Linked DNA regions of Homo sapiens: region 2 is linked to region 1. Evidence: promoter capture Hi-C in human tissues and cell types (Jung and others, 2019). All regions are on one chromosome and are shown on one strand. Each heading gives the region's core, a stretch centred on a gene start or on the middle of the fragment in contact. The rest is flanking DNA. Distances are from core to core; before and after follow the strand shown. Region 1 holds the start of WDR73 (WD repeat domain 73). Region 2 overlaps PDE8A (phosphodiesterase 8A).

Region 1 (4,569 bases), core at 1,250-3,749:
TGTGTATGCTTGTGGCCGGAATGGGACCCTGAGGCCCAGAGAGGGAAAGAGAAGTCAGCAGCCAAGACAGAGTCTGGACCTTGTTCACCTGGACTGGAGCTCTTCCCATTCTCTCATCTGCCTCAGTATCCAGTGGTAGGGTTTAGCAACTTCAGTACATTTGACGTTCTAGGCTGAATCACTGTTTCTTGTGAGGGCTGACGTGTGCATCATGGGATGTTTGGCAGCATCCCTGGTCTCTACATACTAGATGCCAGTAGCATCTTTCCCCCCCATCAAGTTGTGACAACTGAAAAGACCTCCAGACATCACCAGATGTCTGCTGGGGGAGAGGGCCCCAAATCATTATTGGTTGTCAGTCACTGATCTATGGGATTCAAGACTCCAAAGCTGGAGCCAAGCTAGCCTCAAGGTATAGCCCCGCTGAGTGGCAACTCCTTCATTCCCTGCTCCTGGTGCTGTCCTTACTGCACACCACCCTCCCTGGTCCTGCTGCTGTGTGCAGAAGGCAGTGTGATGTGGTAGAATGTGGGTTTTGACTACAACGTGCTGGGCTCATAACCTAGCTACTTAGTAGCTGTATGACCTTAGAAATGTCCCTTAACTTCTCTAAAGCCTCAATATTCTTCACCCATAAAATGAAGATAATAAGGCCCATCTCCCATTAAATGAGACCATTTATGTCAAATGCTCAGCATGGTGCCTGGCTCATAGACAGCCCTTAGTAGATGCGAGCTCTTATCAGTCTGTGAGCTCCCTGGCGGCACCTGTTGTAGACTCGCCTTCATATCCCCCAGTGTGCCTAGCATATAGTGTGTGCATTTTGAAGGGAGAGGCATTCCCTAGAAAAGGTCCAACCCAGCCTCAACCAACATCCCTGACTTCCTGAGGCACAGAACCAGCAGCCCCTGAGGACCTCAGATGTAAGGCCTAGGAGCTTGGGCTGGCTGAGTCTGAAGGGAAACAATGTCACCTCTAATGCCCTTGGTTTTGAAGCTCTGACACATGCAGACCAACTAGAGAATCTCAGAAGCAGCAGTGCCTACGTCTGGGGCTTCAGAGTGAGGTCTGGGGCAGAGCTGGGGTGGGGGAGTGAGGACGCTGACACTAGCCCAGCACCAAGCACTGTATTTGGATTTTCTTCCACGATCTTCTTTGACTGTCATGACCACCCTGGGTGGTTGGGGCTGTGTTCTGAGAAAACTACTGCCCCGACCCCTCCAAGGCAATTCAGGGTGCTCTGGGGCCTGCCTCAGCTGACAGCCTGCTGGTGCCCACCTCTGCAGACATCTGGCACTTAGGAATGGCAGGATGCCCCTATCTTTATCAGGAGCCCCTCCCTGGCTCAATTCTTCTGTATGTTTCTCTTCAGTACAGGAGGCTGCTGGTACAAATACTGCAGAAATGACACCAATAATGGGGCAGACACAACAGCGTGGCTTAGATTGTGCCCACCCAGGGAAGGTGCTGAATGGGACCCTGTTGATGGCCCCATCTGGATGTAAATCCTGAGCTCAAATCTCTGTTACTCCATTACTGTGATTTCTGGCTGGGTCACCAGAAATATCGCTGATGCAGACACAGATTATGTTCCTGCTGTATTTCCTGCTTCCCTGTTGAATTGGTGAATAAAACCTTGCTCTTTACATACAATGCCTGGTCCTCTCCTTTCACCCGTCTTTTAGGGGATGGGAGGAAAAGGGGGCTGGAGGGCAGAGTGTTCAGTGAGATGGGGCTGGCTCAAAAAGTCCAGAATACCCCATGCCATGGCACCAGCCTGGCACTGACTCTGGCCTCCTACCCATTCATTCAGCAAGCAAATAACGCCTGTTGCATGCCAGGCTTCGTGCCAGGCGCGGGGTTCTACTCTCATCTCTGCCACCTACTGGCGCAGGCAAGTGTCACTAGTTTCCTCGCTAGTAAAAGGGGGCTGCAGACACTACACTGCCGGGCTTTACTCAATACCCCCGCCGGACTTGGAGGGGAGCGCCGAGTTGGGATCCAGACCCTGCCGGCCGCTTCCTCTCTTCTCTGGCCGTCAGAAGGGTTGCCAGCGTTAGCAAATAAAAATACTGGACACCCAGTTAAATTCGAATTTCAGATAAACAATAATTTTATCTAATAAAATGTACCAAATATTGCATGAACATACTCGTAAGAAAGAAATTATTCACCGTTTTTCTGAAATTCGAATTTAACCGGGCGGTCCTGTATTATTTCTGGCCTTGGAGCATTCATTGCCCCTCTCTTGGGCTGCAAACACCTGGCCCTAAAACGGGCGATCATTTGGTCCTCAGGTCCTGCTTGGAGCTGACAGCGGGAAAGTCCCGATTTCAGGTCACTTTTCCCGGAGCTTTCGCGGAGAAAACCCGTAACCCACCCATGCCGGGCCGCAGCTCAGCCTGTTAACCCCGCCCCTAACGGGAGGCCCTGCCCACATCTCGCGAGAGCCGCGCGGCCCCCGAAGGCTCGCAGGCGGAAGTGAGACGCCGGAAGCGGTCGTTGCCATGGATCCTGGGGACGACTGGCTGGTGGAATCCTTGCGCTTGTAAATCGTACGGGGCTGGGACATGGGAGCTGGGCCTGGAGCTTGCCTGGCGGGCGGATGGGTGTGGGTGGAGGCACGTTGGGGATCCTGGTGCAGAGTGGGCCAGCTGTGGCCTCGGGGCTCGCCACCGTGGAGGACTCCGCCTGGGCCTAGGCCCCCATCTCTAGGAAATGGCTCCTTCCTGCGTGCGCGCGTTGTGAGATTACTAGTAAGAGCCGCGCTTGTGAAGACGCAGTGCCCAGTTAGTTTGCGCCAGCCTCTGAGTTCAGCTCAGAACACAGATGATCTCATTGATTCCTCACGTCAACCTTGGGAAATCTGGGTACCCTGGGACGTCCACACATGAGGACCGAGGCTCAGGGACATCAAGGGACTGGCCTGGTCCCAGAAACAGGGAGTAAAATGGGAAGTAAACTCAGTCCCACGTCTGCCTGACTCCAGAGTTTGGGCCACTGAACCATGCGGCTGCCATCTTGGAGTTCTTTGAGCTGTGAAGTGCTGTGCATCGTGTGATTCTGTGTCCCTTTTGTGCAGGTACCAGGATTTCTATGCATTCGACCTGTCAGGAGCCACTCGAGTCCTTGAATGGATTGATGACAAAGGTGGTATACCTTTCTAGCCCTGAAGGAGAGGGAATCTCACTCCTGAGCTGGGTTTCAGGAGCTAAGCCTAGAGGGACCCAACCCACTCTTCTGGGCACCTGAGAGTCACTTGTAGCAATTTGATGCCCCATCAGCACTAATATTCCTCTTATTAAGATCTCTGACCGGGAGCAGTGGTTCACGCCTGTAATCCCAGCACTTTGGGAGGCCGAGGCAGGCGGATCACCTGAGGTCAGGAGTTCGAGACCAGTCTGGCCAACATGGTGAAACCCCGTCTCTACTGAAAATACAAAAATTAGCCGGACGAGGTGGTGCACACCTGTGTACCAGCAGCTACTGGGGAGGCTGAGGCAGGAGAATCACTTGAACCCAGGAGGTGGAGGTTGCAGTGAGCTGAGATCACGACACTGTATTCCAGCGTGGCTAACAAAAAAAGTCTTCAGGCTGGGCACTTCAGGAGGCTGAGGCAGCGGGCAGATTGCTTGATCCCAGGAATTTGAGACTAACCTAAGCAAGGAAACCCTGTCTCTACAAAAAATACAAAAATTAGCCGAGCATGGTGGCTCACGCCTATAATCCCAGCTACTCTGAAGGCTGTGGTGGGAGGATCACTTGAGCCTGGCAGGTTGAGGCTGCAGTGAGCTGTGATCGGACCACTGCACTCCAGCCTGGCTGACACAGCGAGACCTTGTCTGAAAAAGACACAACCAGGTACTCAATTCCTCCATACAAGGCTGCACAGTGAAGGAATGTATCCTTACTTCGGGGGATTGCATGGTCTGCAATCTTTCTAACAATTTGTGACAGCTACCTCTGCTTCTTTTTCCAGGAGTCTTTGTTGCTGGCTATGAAAGCCTGAAAAAGAATGAAATTCTTCATCTGAAATTACCTCTCAGACTTTCTGTAAAGGAAAACAAGGTAACTTAAAATATAAATGCTGAGTATGTCAACTTTTATTTATTTATTAAACATTTGTGGAGCTCCTGTTATCTACCAGGTATTGTCCTGGATACTAGAAAGAGAGAAAGCGCTAGGCCTGCCCTTCTAGTCTAACAGAGGGAGGCACATATGCACAGAGATAAATGCTGTAGAATGTCTCGTGGTTTACAGAGGGCTATCAGAGGAGGAGGTCAGTTATACTTTATCAGAAATAGATTTAGGGAGCGATTAAGGATATAGAGGGCGGTCGAAATGCGTAGAGTGATTAAAGTCACCTAGTGAATGTGTGGTATATAAGGAGTGAGGAGAATATAGTGAGGACGGAACCTCAGGGAACACATTTAAGGGATGAGTACAGGAAGATGCACCCCCCCTCCCCAAAGAATACTAAGAAAGAACAGCCTCTGAGGTAAGAGGAATCTCAGAAAAGGTCAATGTTTCTGAAGCCAAGAGAAGAGAACTTCTCAAGAAAAAAAGAGT
Region 2 (4,569 bases), core at 1,167-3,666, 410 kb before region 1:
CAAAAGAGCACAAACACTTTTTTTAAAAAAAGATGTTAGAATTGTCATTTCTTACACTTTTTTTTTCTTGAGACAGAGTCTTGCTCTGTTGCTCAGGCTGGAGTGTAATGGCATGATCTTGGCTCACTGCAACCTCTGCCTCCCAGGTTCAAGTGATTCTCCCACCTCAGCCCTGCCGAGTAGTTGGGCCACAGGCACATGCCACCATGCCCAGCTAATTTTTGTATTTTTAGTAGAGACGGGGTTTTGCCATGTTGGCCAGGCTGATTTCGAACTCCTGGCTTCAAGTAATCCTCCCACCTCAGCCTCCCAAAGTGTTGGGATTACAGGCGTGAGCCACCGCGCCTGGTCAGAATCGTCATTTCTGTGTGTGTGTGTGTGTGTGTGTGTGTGTGTGTGTGTGTGTGTGTGTGTGTGTGTGTGTTTTGGGGGGATGGTGGGTGGGCAACAGGGTCTTCCTCTGTTGCATGGGCTGGTGTACAGTGGTGTGATGTCAGCTCACTGCAACCTCCACCTCCAGGGTTCCAGTGTTCTTGTACCTCAGAGCCCCCAGTGGCTGGGAGATTACAGGTGTGCGCCACCACATGCCCGGCTAATTTTTGTATTTTCAGTAGAGATGGGGTCCCTCCATGTTGCCCAGGCTAGTCTAGAACTCCTGGACTCAAGTGATCCACCTGCTGTGGCCTCCCAAAGTGCTGGGATTGCAGGTGTGAGCCACTGCACCTGGCCATATGCCTACTTTTTTGCTAAGAAACCCACTGGCAGAACTCAACAAAGATTTAGTTAAGCATTTTATCTTGAAACTAAAAGAATTAAAACACATTAATATTTATTTTAGCTGAAAGAAAGTTAACTGGGTAAGTTCTCAGATGGTGAATGCTAATATCTTGGTGAAATTATTAGAATACTTAATCCTATAAATAATGTATTGAAATGTTTGACTCAAGATTTTATGTAATTCCTCCAAGTTAAAAAAAAAATTGCTTTGATTAAAAGAAGAAAGATTTAAAGTAGACCAAAATGTGACACTTCAAAGCCTATCAGTTAAGTGACACAGTCACCAGGTGCAAGAGGTAGCATCTGTGCCTCTGCCCAGGACAGTGGCTGGCTGCCCCAATCACGTCAGTCCTGGCCTGGAGCAAGCGAGGCCTGTATCCATAGCGTCTTCCTTATCCAGCCAGCCTCCTTCCCTCTCTCTCCCTGCTATTCCCACTCCCAATCTGGTTCAGGAGCACCCGTGCTCCATCCCTTCAGAAGCAGACTGAAAATGGGGCAACAGTGGTAAGGAGGAGATGGGCAGCCTGTGAAACAGACTGCAAAGCTATCAGAAACCCTCCTAAGGCTTATTTCTTCCGAGTTTACTCAACTACACAAAGACCATACATGCAAAGAACTAAGAGCACACATTTCTGTCAGCACTTCTCATATATTTTTAAATGTAATAGTGAATGAAACATGTTCATGTGCGGGGAGCATGGATAACTTCGCTGAATTTCAATTGGTTGTTTTCTTTTTTTTTTTTTTAATTATACTTTAAGTTTTAGGGTACATGTGCACATTGTGCAGGTTAGTTACATATGTATACATGTGCCATGCTGGTGCGCTGCACCCACTAACTCGTCATCTAGCATTAGGTATATCTCCCAATGCTATCCCTCCCCCCTCCCCCCTCCCCACCACAGTCCCCAGAGTGTGATATTCCCCTTCCTGTGTCCATGTGATCTCATTGTTCATCAATTGGTTGTTTTCTGTCTCATATTTTGAATTAGATAAATTACAGATATCTTCTCTCTGACAGAGCTGATTCAGCAACATTGAAAAGACAATCTTTTTACTTTTTATATTGGAAAATTTCAAATCTACAGAAACGTGAATGAAAATGAACACTAAACATGCCCTTTCTCTACATTCATCAATTAACATTTTGCCACCTTTGCTTTGCTTTCTCTCTCTCTCTAAACACATACATGTACATACATACAATTATACACATTTTTTATTTATTGCTGAACCAATTTTTTTTCTTTTGTTTGTTTGAGACAGGGTCTCACTCTGTTGCCCAGGCTGCAGTGCAATGGTGTGATCATGACTCACTGCAGCCTTGACCTCCCGGGCTCAGGTGATTCTCCCATCTCAGCCTTCCAAGTAGCTGGGACCACAGGCACACACACCCCCATGTCCATCTAATTTATTGTTGCTGTTGTTGCAGAAACTGGGTCTCCCTATGTTGCCCAGGCTGGTTTCAAACTCCTCAAGGACTCCTCAAGCTCAAGAGATCCTACTGCCTCAGCCTCCCAAAGTGCTGGGATTATAGGCATGAGCCACCGTGCCTGACCTATTGCTGAACCAATGAAAGTAGGCTACAAACACTTCTTCATCTCTAAACACCACAATGTGTATTTCTAAGAACAGGATATTCTCTTATATAACTATAATACTGTTACAGAGTTCAGGGAATTTAACATTGGTCCAAACACTATTATCTAAATGAAAGACTATTTTAAATGTGTAAATTTAGCTCCACCTCCACCCTTTTTAAAGAAAATCAGCATGTGAAAAATACAGCATCGTTCATTATTACCTGAAGTTGATCTTGATGAAATCTCATGGGGCCAAACTGCACATCAGCTACTGCTACCTGTAAGAAAGAGATTGGCTTAAAAATGAAAAGACAACGGAGAAAGAGAAGCTTAACTTTTTCTCTCTCTAAACAGTGCCAAAAATGAAAGCAAAATTTCTATTCTAGAGGCAAATAAAGTAAATAGTAGATAAATGAAATGATTATGAGGAATCCTAAGGATCTCCTTATAGCCCCCAGGAAAAGTGGGGAGCAGGAAAGGAGAAATAAAATGAACAAATAAAATGAATGTGATTCTGGCTTTGCCTTTTACTAGCTACATGTGACTTTAAGTGAATTAATCTTCCTCAGCCTCAACTTCTCATTTGTTAAAGGCCAAATGAGATGACAATATAGAGAGCCCCCCAATAATAGATACTAAATAAACGCTGATTCCCTCTGTGCCTATTTCCATTTTTTTCCTGATGGACAATGAAATCTTACACCCAAATGGCACATGAATAATGCAATCCAGCAGTCAGAACCATGGAATGTCATTGAAAAATGGTTGACACTTTCTATTTTACAGAGGAGCATAATAGCACTTACTGTAAGTACTTATCCATTTGAGAATGTAATGCTAAATCAAAGATAAATGTAATATCATAACCAAACCCCAGTGAGTAATAACAATCACAGCACCAATGGAAGACTTAGTGTGTTCTGGTTACTGTGCTAAGGGCTGCACATGTTATTTCACTGAATCTGATAGTAATGTGGTGAGAGTTTATAGCTAGAAAACTGAAGTTCTAAGTACCCTGCATTAAGACCACACAGCAAGTGGTAGTGCTGGGATTCCACCCAGGTTTGTTTAGCTCCATACACTGTGCTGTAAACTCAGGACCACCAGAAGATTTGAATAGCCTGTATACAACACAAAGGGGCCCAAGGAAGGGAGAAGGTGGGACTGAAAACCAGCTCCAGGTGATGAATTCTGGCACTGGGCTGCTACCCAGGGGAAGAGACACATTTTGTAATTTGCCCAGTGACTCTGTAGGTGTTGATGAGATCCCAATCTGGGCCTCTGTGTGATGGTATGATTCGTCACAGCAACAGAAGAACTAGATCCATAAGACTTCCTACAAAATGTTTCCCAACTGACTGCCCTCCTCCAATCTCTCCCCTCAAACAGTGACCTATTCTAGTAAACACATTACGAAGTTTGCTTAGTGATGGGAGAAAAATCCACATATATTTTTAACCATGAGAAGCTGATGTCTAGTAATTATGGGCCACTGGCTCAGTTTCTGCATTGCTCTGCAATAATTTTATCTCTCAGAAGGCATAAAAAGAATGAGGGTCCCTAATATTCTAGACCAAAGACTGAGGAGGAAGATTCTTCAGTAGGGTGAAAGAGTCAGAACAGACAGTGCATGGTTATTACCTATTCTCTTGAGTTGTGTAACTATGGGCCAGTCTCATACTGGTGTAACTGGATGCCAAAGCCAGAATTTTTATGAGGGAAGATGGTCCAAGAGGTCCACAGGAGAGTCTTAAAAGATGGATTTAGAGAAGACAGTAGAGTAAGAAGCACCAGGAATCTGTTTCCCCACCTAGACAATATTGCACTGGCAGAATATGTCTGATGCAACTATTTTAGGAACAATTGAAGACGTGCAACTTCCAGGGGAAGGCTTGGATGGTAAACCGCAGTTAATTTTAGCTCTTAGCACATAGCAGGTACCCAGGCCCATGGTGGGCAGCTGTGCATGTGTTCCTAAAGCAACCTGAACACAACTTGCAGGACCCAGGGAAGGCAAAAACAACCATGTCCTCCAAATATCAGGGATCTGTGCTCTGATCACTGATACAGAGGTGCAGACAAAGAAGGGGTGCATTGTTGCACTTTCTCCCATTGTTGCAAGCCATTCCCCCTCCAGTTGAAGAGACTTCTAGGAGATTTAAAGGGCTAGTGCCCTTCCTCTCCTTTCATTTTTCTCTTTTATCCCCTT

Evidence for each region. The method cuts DNA at HindIII sites, captures the fragments that hold promoters and counts their contacts. A contact is called where the count stands out against the background at its distance.
Region 2: a fragment that was not itself captured here is called in contact with the fragment with the promoter of WDR73 in region 1 in 2 of the 25 tissues and cell types used here (adrenal gland and hippocampus).

The regions. Positions count from the first base shown.
Region 1 is chr15:84,652,213-84,656,781 of GRCh38, reverse strand. It overlaps WDR73 (WD repeat domain 73), which reads left to right and starts at 2,499. Exons shown (of 8, transcript NM_032856.5): 1 at 2,499-2,548; 2 at 3,083-3,150; 3 at 3,980-4,068. The coding sequence starts at 2,508. NMB (neuromedin B) reads left to right here. Exons shown (of 3, transcript NM_021077.4): 3 at 1,373-1,650. The coding sequence ends at 1,408. RefSeq lists enhancers at 2,513-2,752, 2,179-3,146. The HindIII fragment of the contact is 11,541 bases long and covers 1-4,569 here.
Region 2 is chr15:85,062,439-85,067,007 of GRCh38, reverse strand. It overlaps PDE8A (phosphodiesterase 8A), which reads right to left. Exons shown (of 22, transcript NM_002605.3): 2 at 2,582-2,638. Among named protein-coding and RNA genes, the nearest start is that of PDE8A, 83 kb to the right of the region's middle. The HindIII fragment of the contact is 4,507 bases long and covers 163-4,569 here.